Linked DNA regions of Homo sapiens: region 1 is linked to region 2. The links are contacts of gene promoters, found by promoter capture Hi-C in human tissues and cell types (Jung and others, 2019). All regions are on one chromosome and are shown on one strand. The core of a region is centred on a gene start or on the middle of the fragment in contact, and the rest is flanking DNA. Distances in the headings are between cores, read along the strand shown. Region 1 has its middle 690 kb from the start of FSTL5-AS1. Region 2 holds the start of FSTL5 (follistatin like 5).

Region 1 (6,236 bases), core at 2,284-4,783, 830 kb before region 2:
TGTTGGGCCCTGAATCCCATCCAGAGGATTTCACTGCATCTTGACTGCAACTGACAAATTTTCCAGAATTGACATAGTCAGTCCTCTATAGTCCTCTGACTGGGGCCAAATTATCCAGGTCCTAGAGGGTCAAATTTATTTCCTATTCAGGTTCCCTGAGCAAATGATTATCTGATAATGGCCCTAGATTTGCAGCTCAAGCTACACAACACTGGACCCAATCATGGGCTATACCATGAATTCTACATGCTCCATATTATCCTCAAGCAAAAAGTATAGTTAAACATTTTAATGAAAAATTGAAGGGCAGGCTTGAAGCTGCTGATAAGAGGAAATGAGATAACCATGGCCTGAACTACACATCTCAAGCTAGCATCCTTGTATCTCAATGCAGGGATTCCCTGAAAAGGTTGTTCTTATTTGTGCCCCTTGTTTGATCAGGCTGTCGTCCCTGTTCCTCATTTTGTACATCATTCTTTTACAATTATTGACATCTCAGTCTCCATTGGGTACTCTGTAAGGACTTTCTATCATCTTTGGCCCCTTGCTGAAGACTCAAATCAAAGGGAGATCAAGATGGACATTAAAAAGCAATACAATGAACTCCTGTATTTATCCCCCAGTTGCAAGGCATAGGTTTTTGTCTACAAGGTGGGAGACAATGAACTCCTTCTTCATTTACCCCCAGGTGCATGGCATAGGTTTTTATCTACAAGGACCACAAAAATAAAGACCATCAATTTGAGGCCCCTTGCTATTTAGAATAGGCTGTGTAATCAAAAATTTAAACTACTGTAAGTATATTGAAAAGCCCTAGTTAAGCATTTTCCTTAATGTGGCCCTTCCACTTTACCCAGTATAGCCCCATGGGGAAAACATATAAAACAGAAAGTTTTACCGTGCAATACATAAGAGAATGTAAGCCTAATTACATGAATTTGCCACCCTGGAGGTTAGGTCAAGGGTTCTCTCATTACAAATGGTACAGGACAGACTGCCCACGTCACAGTCAGTGGGGAAAATCCCCATCCCAACCAGCTGATAGGGTACGAGCACATTCCTACTGAAGAGCTCACTTCTGAGGGAAAAGAATAAATCAAGCATTTCTTATCTCTCTCCGACAGGACAGGTAGCCCAGGTGACTTGTGTCTTGCCAGATTTCTTGGTCTGCCTATTCTAGACAGTTACCACCACCCTGAATCTGATGAACTATTGGATGCCACCTTTGCCTAATCCTGCAGGAAAACATCTTATAACTATGTCACTGTATATCACAAATGGACATCTCTCTAGCCATAGAAATTTCTACTATCCCAGGTGTCCTAACCTTACTAATTTAGACCTGATGAATTACTGCAACTGGACTCTGTCACTGAAGAAATAAAACACCTTCCTAAATATCAACGATCTCCTATCAAAGATTCTGGCAATGGGGTCAACTGAACATCTGGAGGAGGGGGCATGGGATGCAACACTGGGGCTATTTTGTCCATGAAAGCAAGAGTCTTCTCCTCTGCCATACTCATCCCCAACTCTGCATAGACTGTTTAATTACATTCATGGACTCTGTCCACCAGGAGAGACTTCCAGTTGGTTGAGTCCCAGAGCAGTCAGTGATTCTTACACTCAATTCCCTATGTATTTCTTCTAAACATGTTGGTTAGCCTATTGTTCCCCCTCTTGTTATTCACCACCTTGGGCAGCTGCCACATTGCGGCCAGCTTGTTAGCACTAGAAAAGTCTCAGACAGTTTAAATAAAGCCAGCTTTGTGAATTGAGTTTCCAGAGAACACTAGACACATAAAATAGTTTTTAAAATCTCTTAAAATGCGGTTTTGAAGGGGCTCTAATCCAATTTTATAACCTCTAGTGGATGCCAGGTGACTGGCTTTTACTGTGCTTGTGATCCATTGATTTCTTTCAAAGTAACCAGAGGTGAGAAGGGGAAGTTGGGATGAGGATAAGTTAAAACATCACAAAGCTAGTTGTTCTTTTTTTAATTCAGCTTTTTTTTTTTAATTGAATACATGCTCACCAGATTGCTGAAAGTTTTTGGCAAATTTCCAGAGATCTGAAAAAATTGATTTTCATTTTTTTTATTTTTTTTGACCAGTTTCCTTGTTGTTTTTATGAATAAGAAAATATCACGCCTGGCGTAGTGGCTCAGGCTTGTTATCCCAAAATTTTGGGAGGCTGAGTTGGGTAAATCACTTGCGTCCAGGAGTTCGAGAACCGCCTGAGCAAGATGGTAAAACCCTTTCTCTACAAAAAATACAAAAATTAGCTGGGCATGATGGTGCAAGTCTATAATTCCAGCTACTCAGGAAGCTGAGGTGGGAGGATCACCTGAGGTCAAGGCTGTAGTGAGCTGTGATGGTGCCACTGCACTCCAGCTTGGGTGACTAAGTGAGACTCTGTCTCAAAAAATAAATAAAATAAAATAAAATAAAATAAAGCTTTGGGCCAAGCTTGAGGATTGCAGTCAGGGACCATAGATTCAAGTTGCCATGAATATACACTCTGATCAGTGGCAGTTACAAGTAGAATTTTCAAGAAATAAAAGGCAGTTCCTGAGTTGTTTACCAATAATATATTTAAGAAGGCCTGTAATATATTTAAGGCCTTCTTTGGGATCCTGGCATTTATCTCATTACTTAAATAAATATATGTATTTTAAGTTGATATTTGGAAGATATTTATCTATACTATCTACATACTAAATATTGATATATATATATATATATCGATATATATCTTCTAAATATCCACTTTTAATTAAGCTGACCTCTGGTCATAGTGCTCTAAAAAGAAATCATTTCAAATCTCAACTTACTGGATTTCAGCCAGGACAAACAGGAAGTAGGTCTGTCATTTAGTTATCCTGGTTCTAAAACAGCTTTTTTTATTTCAATTACGCATGCAAATGAATTATTTTAAATATTTCAAAGAATCCCTATTTTGGCTACTACTGATTGTGACTGTCCAGGTTAAGCAGGGCCACTTTCCTAGATATTTACAAGAGATTGCCTTATAAGTGGTATATATAAATCCATCTGATGTTTCTACAAAGAGTGTTCAGATTTTAAGGCTTGATTTTTCCATAATTTAGGGAAAGTAATCAAGGCTGGGAATGTATTTTGGGTTGAAGTGTGACATGTCTCAGACTGTCTCTAACTGCCAAGTGGTAGCAGAGTGCTCAAGGTATGAGGGATAAGACCCCAATATTATACGTGTCTAGAAGAGCAAAAAACAAGGTACACATTTCATTTACGAACTAACAGGAATGGGTCACAAATTAAAGACTAAGTCTGAATTTTCCAGCTATAGAAGACAGCTGTAGTCCTAAAAAAATGTTGTATAAAATAAAACCAACAGTGCCTAATTGCCAGTCCTTTGACTTGAACCTCTGCTGTGAGACCAAGGTGGAAACAGAGGCAGTTCTCTGAGGAGATCTTTACCTCATTCTCCTGTTCAAAGACAGAGACTGAAGCCCTCACTCTTAAAGGAAATACAGGGTTGGAAAAACAGTCCAAATAAAGTCTAGACCTTCAACCAAAGAGTGGGAGGTCCAAATTCAGGATAACTCACCCAAAACAACCCATGAGACTTCTGAGGACAGAGAATTCCTGCTGGTACCAAGCCCCAACTTCAGAGAAACACAAGGTTTTCAGGAGGAGTCTCTGTGAATCCTGTTGACTTACGCCAGATAATCCTGTTGACCTAAATGGGGGAGGCTGAGGCAAAATTAATATAAGTGGAGAGTTTTCTTTTTGTTTTGTTTTGTTTTTTGTTTTTTTGGTTTTTTTCTTTTTGAGATGGAGTCTTGCCCTGTTACCCAGGCTTGAGTGCTATGGTGCGATCTTGGCTCACTGCAACCTCCATCTCCTGGGTTCAAATGATTCTCCTGCCTCAGCCTCCCGAGTAGCTGGGATTACAGGTGTCTGCCACCACGCTTAGCTAATTTTTGTATTTTTAGAAGAGATGGGGTTTCGCCATGTTGGCCAGGCTGGTCTCGAACTCCTGACCTGGTGATCCGCCCACCTTGGCCTCCCAAAGAGGTGGGATTACAGGCGTGAGCCACCACACCTGGAAAGTAGAGAGTTTCCATGAGACAATCTTGAGAATTGCAACCAGGGATCCTAGATTCAAGTTGCCCTGAATATACACTCTAATTAGTTGCAGTTATAAGCAGATTTTTAAAGGCAGAGACAAGGCAGTTCCTGAGTTGTTTAACAAGAATTTACATTAAAATAACATAAGCTATTGATTGACTCTACATTCTTTTTATCACAAATTCCAGCACCATGAAGATAATGGGTGAGGCAGCTAGTCAGGAACAAAATGACTTTAAACAATTGCCCATGGCATGGGTACCAGGAGCATGATTATAGTCTCATACTGATGTCTCTCTGGGCCTGCCTGCAGACCTCATATAGCCCAGACAATTCTGCCCATTTTTTTTTCTCTGTAATCAAACTGATGTTTTATGTGAGTCCACATGTCTTAGGCACTGTATCTCAGTTGGTCCAGGATATAGCCAAGAAATATGAGTGTCATTCACTAGCATCCACATGTCTGAACAGTATGTATGAAAAACACTATAAAAATTTTTCAGACTTAAGGCAAGAATCTCTACACTTCAAAAGGTTTAGTTGCAAACAAATTAACAAGAGCTCATTGAGAGTTCCCCTCTTTAGTATATATCAAATGCGATCTATATTTTATATTTAATTCAAATTCTTCCTCATAAGCAGACTACTTACGAAGAGATTTTGGTAAACACTCATCTGTAGACTATCTGACAATACACTGTATCTGTATTAAAAATTAAATGGTTTTATTAAATGTTTATTTAGCTTTATGATAGATGGCATAGCTTCCCAAAAAGAGAAATGCATCTTCCAAAGAATGAATGATATGATTTGAATGTGTGTCCCCTCCAGATCTCATGCTGAAATGTGACCCCTCAATGTTGGGAAAGGGGCCTACTGGGAGGTCTGCAGGTCATCCAGGTGGATCTCTCATGAATGGCTTGCTGCCATCCCCTTGGTGATGAGGGTGTTCTCACTCTATTCATTCACATGAGAGCTGGTTGTTTAAAAGAGCATGGCCTTTCTCCCTCTACTTCCTGTCCCCTCTCACCATGTGACATGCTTGCTCCCCCTTTGTCTTCTGCCATGACTGGAAGCTTTCTGAGGCCTTAGCAGAAGCAGATGGTGGTATCATGCTTCCTGTACAGTCTGTGGAACCATAAACCAACTAAATCTCTTTTCTTGATATATTACCGAGTCTCAGGTAATTCCTTTATAGCAACATATAATGGACTAGTACAATGAAGCCTAAATTTTTAAAATTTCTCAGCATGTTAATTCATAGAAAATGAAAACACATCCAAGTTGTCAAACTGAAATAATAAAAAGGGTCAGAATCTAGTTTTAAAGAGTTAATTCAAGCAAAACCTGGGAATGGCTACCTGGGAGATAAAAACTCCAGTAAAATGGGGTCAGTGCCCAAAAGTTAAAAGTTAAGTTATTGCTTATATCGGCAGAAAACAAAGAAGTTTAACAGGACTACATGATTTCCTAGCCATGGCTGGTTTAAAAGTTGCAACAAATTAGTTACAGTTCATTTTCTGTTCTCTACCACTTGTTTTCCTTTCTTTACAGCTGGTTGTCATTCTCTTTCCAGTTTAAAGAATGTATTTAACAGTTCACCTTAAGACAATGTGATAGCCATGAAGTCTTCCTGTGAGAAACGTTAAGAGGGAGATTAATCTGTTATGAAGGTAAAAAATGTAGAAGGAAGGGGGCCTTCCCTGGTGCCCTTCAGTCATTTACATCTTACAAGATGATACAGATAAGGGAGAAAGATTAATCTGTAATCAGACAAAGTTTACAGCTTCCTTGGTTATAGAGGTCTATTATGAGACTTTAAGGCTCAAAAAATTTAGAGTTTCAATAGCCAAGACTTTTAGTTACTTACTTTCATAAGATAACATTTATTGATTGGGGATATAAAATATATTAAAGTATGATCTAACATCAACAGCAGGATAAACTAGAGGATAACTACTTTTGGTTGTAAATGTTTTTGTCACTTAAAAATAATTACCCCGGGCCGGGCGAGGTGGCTTCCACTTGTAACACCAGAACTTTGGGAGGCCAAGGCAGACAGATCATGAGGTCAGGAGATCGAGACCATCCTGGCCAACATGGTGAAACCCCGTCTCTACTAAA
Region 2 (6,526 bases), core at 3,115-5,614:
GATATCCAGGCTGTGTTCTACAGAGGTGCATGGCTTATTATCTGAAGATTTGTAGGAAGTAAACTTGATGTTTTACTTTTATAGATTGTAATTTCCAAATCCTTTATCAGAACTCATATTTTTAAATAATTAATGTGGTGCTATAAACTCTTCATTATGCACACATCCATTTTGTTTTTTATTCCTGGCAAATATTCATTTTCAATTGTTCCTTGCCTTGCCAATCAGCATGAGAGGTTCTAAATGTCATTTTAATGCCAAAAAAACTGGTATGTGCACAAGCATTCTAGCCGAAATAAAAAATAACAGTAATTAGAAGACAAAATTGCCATTAAAAGTTATATATTGTATTACAGCTTATTATCTAAATTATTTTGTAATAGCTAGCATGTCTTTAACTTGCATGTTCTAGGCCATGCCCTTGCATGTTTATTCTAGAGTAGAATTTACATATATATGTGTATATACATATATGTGTAAATATATATGTACACACATAAATTCATACACACGTATATACATTCTAATTGTCTCAATTACTTATACTATTATTTAATTCATCCTCTTTCAGAAAACCCATTGGAACTCTGAGTTTATCAAAACATGGTCCCATCCATTATAATAATATCAATTCATCAATACTAAGGTGATTTAAAACACAGGGGGACTAATTGCTTTACTGTATGGTTACCAATTTAATTGGAAAATTAGGATATTTCCACAAGGGATTCTACAGCTAACCTAAAGTAGGATATACCCAAAAGATTTTGGAGGCGTTGAAGCAGAAGGTGATTAACTCTGTTTGGTAAAGGATAATTGGTCACTTGACTCTTAGAACTACTCTAACAACAGGAAATATTTTTTTCTAGTTTATTAGTTCACAAGAGTCTTTTGAGCTTCATAATATATTAAGTAGTAAAAAATACGAGAGATACTATGTCAATTTTGGGCAAATATGAAGAACTAATAGAAAGATGTCATTCAAGGCCTTTGGGTCTTATTGATAAATGAGCTTTAAATATTATTTTTAAATGGTCATTATTCAAAGAAAACTATCCAAATTATTAGGCAAATAACTTCTTAAATATTATTTTAAAAGGTATTTTTATTTTTTTCAAACTTTTTAGAGTATTTCAGATTTATTATGACTTGTATTTTTCTATCGCCCATGTTAGTAACTAGAAAACAAAACAAAACAAAAAAAAAGCAAGCAAGCAATATACAGCCTTGATAATAAAAATTCCAAATTGATTCACCCTTATCTTAAATCTCACAAAACATAAACAGGAATGCATTTTATTTGTAAGAAGAAATAATCTATCTATAAATTTCATTTTTGACTCAATTTTTAGTTTGATCGATAACCCTCAAGAGGTTGAGAAACAATTTAAAAAGACAAATTGAGCACGTCATGTAATATATAATTAAATTATTTTGATAATTTTCTGTAGACTTTATGAAGTTCATCACTTTTCTGCAAACGGTGCTGTATATATTTGCAGTGTGTCTGTAATGAAATGAGTTAATGTCTTAACAAGACATCCAGTGTTGTGTTACTGAATAATCCTTTACATTTTACATGAATTCATTGTAACTCCAAAATACGGTCATTTCTTTGTGGATCAAAGACTTAATAAGGGGCCACCACATTTGAATATCTTTCATAAGTGTCTTCAAAGTTGGCAATTTGATTAGTTTCAGTGGAAATGTTATTCTGCATTTAAGTAGTGTCCCCTATATGCTAAATTTGGGCTTATGATGGGAATCTAATTTTACCTTATTTCAGGACTAAGATGCAAAAGCTAAAAGTGTAGAAAAATCAGAAAAAAAAATGCAGCTAATGTTTTACATTTGCAATCTCACTGAGTCAACCTTTGGTTATTATTGCCAGTAGCATAGTTTGACTTCAGTGTTTAAATATGTTATTGTTAGATGAAACATTAAATTTCATCTTAAAGAATTCCAGATATTGGTAGTTCAAGGTAAATATTTATACTTGAATAAAGACATACATCTTGGAAAACTTTGTGCAAATGGAAGTCAATGACACACTTAGGTACATTTTGAGTAAATATAATGTTTATATATAGTATGCCTTTCAAATAAGTTATAAAATTAAGATATGTATTCATGTTTCAAGATAATAAATAAAATTGAAAATAAAATAAGCCATAATTCTGTTAGAAATTTCACAGCCTAAATATTTATACCAACATAATTAGTTTTAACAAGAACATTTCAAAATTTGTAGTGGAAAGAATGATTCTCTGTGTATTTAAAGGAGATTATGTTGTATAAACTTCCTAGCTCAGTGTTTTATATATTCTTTTTTGCCCCTCTACCCAATCCAGGCTTTCAAAATTTGTATGAATATTTAATTTAAGATCACATGACTGACATGAATCCTACAAAGAATATCTGTTTAGGGTAAAACATGTGAACAACTTCAAAAGATTTACATTTGACCTTTAGTATTTGCAACAATATGCATTGCTTGTGACAATCACTCTCTTGTAGGGCTGTGTAGTAAATACAATGAAAAATCTCTACCTAGAGGATTTAGTTTAAATCATAAAATTCTAAAGCTAAACTTCATCCTAGTAACTCTAATGCAACTAGAGTAGAAATTTTATATTTTAAAATATACAAATATTTAAACCTAACTTAGTGTACGCCTGCTGAAAAGCATAGCTCTATTCAGTTGAATAATACTTATTAAGTACGAAACAGCTTTATATTTAACTCATTCCTATTAATATTGGACATCTACTTGCAACCTAAACTCTCTCTCTCTGGAATGTAAAGGAAATATCCCCCACCCCCGTCCTTTTCCAGGCATCATTTATACTTAATCTAATGTTACTAAATGACATAAATGAGAGACCACAATTCCATTTATCAGGCAAACCATCACACCTGTCAAAGTCATGAATAGTAATAAGAAATACAAAGAGCACAGGATAACTTCTATCATTTAATAATTGCTCACTATGAGAAGTATTGTTCAGTCGTTTTCCACACTGAATTCTTTCTCTGTACACACTCAGAACACACTGCCAATTGATAAAAGGAACATAGCTTCAAAAGAAAATTCTTCTAAGTAAAGAAAAGCTCTCTGTTAAGCATGCAAGAGGTTAAACATTGCTGAAATAGTGAGACATTTTCTCAGCCCACACTTCCCAGTTCCATTCAATTACCAACAGCACAAGCGACTATAATACAAGCGAATACTGTATTATTAAATCAGAACTTCCCATTTACATCCACCTCTAACCTGAGGGGGTTGCAAGGGGATGACATTTGCTAGTCAACAGCAGAACAAACAGCCCCCAACTTGGAAATACACATGACCTTGGGGTGTGGAATGCTCAGAGACTGAGTTTCACAAGTTTTATTTGGATCTACTGCATAACAACACATCTAAATGGACCCAGCATGATGTAAATGTTTCTATACCTACCTCCTCCCTTCCAAAAAATGTTAAGAGAGCTCTGCACTTTGAAGTCTATGCTTTAGATATAGGAATAATATTGATGATTAACCAGAGACTAGTCCATTCAAATAATTATTTGATTATATTTGTTCTAAACAACTTGTTGGTTGATTTATTTAACATCATTTGCTAATATATTTGGGGGGTTTCCTGGAATGGTTCCTATCCTTTGAACCCTGCTGAAAGTATTGCTCTAAAATATTTATATTTATAAAGCAAGATATAACATAATGACATCAACTTCACAAAAAGCAAAGCTCTCAACTTCCCCTCTAGAATTTAGTGCATAATCACTAACAGATTGTCTTGTAATAATAATAATAATAATAATAATAATAATAGTAATTATTAAAATATTTTTGTAATCATTGCCAAAAGTCCAGTTTCAAATTATAAAAATAAGCATAACTTGTTTTTAAATTTTTGTATGGCAGTCTGTATTTCTCCCCCACTTGTAATCATTTATAACAATATTATTTTTCTTACCTTATTTTAACAGTCACAAAAGTCCCCCAGAAAGATTCCTAAACGCTGTGGAAATATAAATCACAATAAAAAAAAAAAACTCTCAAAAGATCGTCTTAGCTGGGGAAAAAAAAATAGTTTGGTCTAAAACTATAGAAATCTCCAAAGTCACGCCTGAATGAGCGCCCAGGTGGCAAACAGAGGACTCTCTCCCACGTCCGATACCACACTCCTTTGTCAAGTTGATATGGGTCCTGTTGGTGAAGCGGGTCCCACAGGGCACAGAGGGTGCAAGAGGGCGTTGCCTTCAGGTGCTGGAGCAACTGGTCCGCTCGCGTCTCAGGTTCAGCACCGACAGCACAGTGGACAGTACCAGCTCCTTTCACCTCCAGTTTGTCTCAGTCACTGAACCAGGCTGATTCTCGCTCCTCCTCCCTAGGCAGGAGCTGCTGCCACTCAACCCGGGGGTGCCCCGCCCCCACCATCTGACGTAACTATTTTGCATATCAACTCGCCGAGAGGTGAGGGGCCGCCCCCTTGACTGGGCTTCTGCTAGAGTCAGCTGCGGCAATCGGGGCAACAAAATTCAGGCTTAACGTCAGCGTGGGCATCTTTGGACTTCAGGATGTATTCTCAACCAGTCCAGTAGAAACTAAACGCTTTGACGGTGCTGGAGCCTTTGCCTTCGCGGGGACTGCCGTTTCTGCGCACTCTAAGATCGCTGCGGGCACAGCTCTGGAAGGAAGACGGGGCGGAGAGAGGGGGCAGTGGAGCACGGAGAGGACCGAGTGGGAGGCGGGTGGGGAGGAGACGGAGAAATAGAATGAATCTATTCAACCATTCTTGAAAACATCTCCAATCCTTTTCATCTTCCTGCCCAAACTTTGCTGCCTCTCCCTGCCATTTGGTTATTTGAACGGATCCGTATTTGGTGTTCCTACTCCCTTCCCTCGGTTCACGGAGCCTCTGGAGGGAGTCGCTGCTGCAGAAACTTGCCTGGAAGAAAAAAAAAAAAATTCTGAGCACTGAGAGAAAACGTGAAAGCTTGCAGCGCTAACCATCATTTCTAAACAGAATCTTAAGGAAAAAAAATACGAGTGCTCCATAGTATATATTATACTTCATATGCGTTCCTATAAAACCTACAGAACCTTCCTTATTCATTCTCATGATTTAAACAAATCCTCAAACTGTATAGACTTGGAGATTCCAGAGGGAAAAAAATTAAATAATAAAAAGTGAAAGTTATCAGCTTCAACTTCCACTGCCAAAATTATGAAGGTTATGCAATATTTATTATGTCTACTATATCAATATTTCTATGAAAGATGGGCTATGCTGGAAGCTTTACATAGCCTTTAGCAATTCTCTCAGTATTTGTGATATTTCTTGTCCCAGTGAAGCTCTAGCCTCCTTGAAGGCAAGAGAAAGGGGGCCTGTCATGCCAAATTCCACAGACTGCTTAAACTTGTAAACAAACACTTTCAGTGAACTGAAGCAATCAATCATCCAGAAGGGTGATTATTCACATTCCATGCACATGTCCCACCTACAGCTATCATGACTTACTTGGACAGAGAAGTGGGTATCTAAAACTAAGCTTAAATTTTCTTAAGTTGGATAAAGCATGTTTAATAAAAAAGGTTGTTTATTCAAATAATGTCATAGCATTTCACACATTGCTTTCCATCAGAATGCATACACACTGATATGTGTCATCATATGCCAGGAGTCTGATATCATCTAGCACTGGATCCACTCACAAGCATTTTTCAGGGACTCTAATCAAAGGAATACACTTACTTATTTCCCCATCAGGAAAAATAATGCATTTTATTTTCTCTAATATTAAGAAGTTATTTGAGGAAGTCTATTTACTTTGTGGACCCATACCCCCAAACTGCTTCTTTCTAGTTACTTAAAAAAGAAGAAATAACAGAGGAAAAAACTATGGTGTTTTTGCTTGAGGGAAGGAACATTTTTTTATTCTGATTCACACCCACATAAAACTTTCTCTATGGCTTTATTCCAGAAATTGCCCATTTCTTTTCTGAACGTACAATCCCCAGTACTATTTCTCCAACACACCTTGACTACAAGTTTTGCATTTTGGGTAATCTGCAATGTTTTTGTTTTCTCAGACAACTACTGATTTTGCATTTGTAAGTGTCAAGTGCCATGACTTTTTGCACAGATATACCCATACATGCATGTATTATGAGTTCTTCAATTCCCAAAGTCATTTTAATAAAGGTGGCAGACACCATGATATGTCAGGAAAGATGATCTGTGGGGGCAGATGGGTGTTGCACAATTACAATTACAATGGAGCCAACTGTATAACTTGAACTTAGGCTGGCTACGGCGCACATGATATGCTTCTTTTGGGAACATCGCATAGCACACTTTGGTCTGCTTCATGCCAATGTGCTGAAATGTCAGAGAAATCTTGATAGTTCACTTTAGCAATATAGAGAGTACATGATGTATGCTTATAAAATTCCACCAAGACCTATGTTGTTTGTATAATGGACATAATTTTTCAGTTTACTCCAGTGATCATAATGT

Evidence for each region. Contacts are between HindIII fragments. The study calls those that stand out against the background at their distance.
Region 1: a contact is called between a fragment that was not itself captured here and the fragment with the promoter of FSTL5 in region 2, in 2 of the 25 tissues and cell types used here (H1 embryonic stem cells and dorsolateral prefrontal cortex).

Annotation. Positions count from the first base shown.
Region 1 is chr4:161,334,512-161,340,747 of GRCh38, forward strand. No RefSeq gene overlaps it. Among named protein-coding and RNA genes, the nearest start is that of FSTL5-AS1, 690 kb to the right of the region's middle. The HindIII fragment of the contact is 5,240 bases long and covers 914-6,153 here.
Region 2 is chr4:162,159,636-162,166,161 of GRCh38, forward strand. FSTL5 (follistatin like 5) reads right to left here and starts at 4,365. Exons shown (of 16, transcript NM_020116.5): 1 at 3,980-4,365. RefSeq lists an enhancer at 4,519-4,628. The HindIII fragment of the contact is 23,396 bases long and covers 1-6,526 here.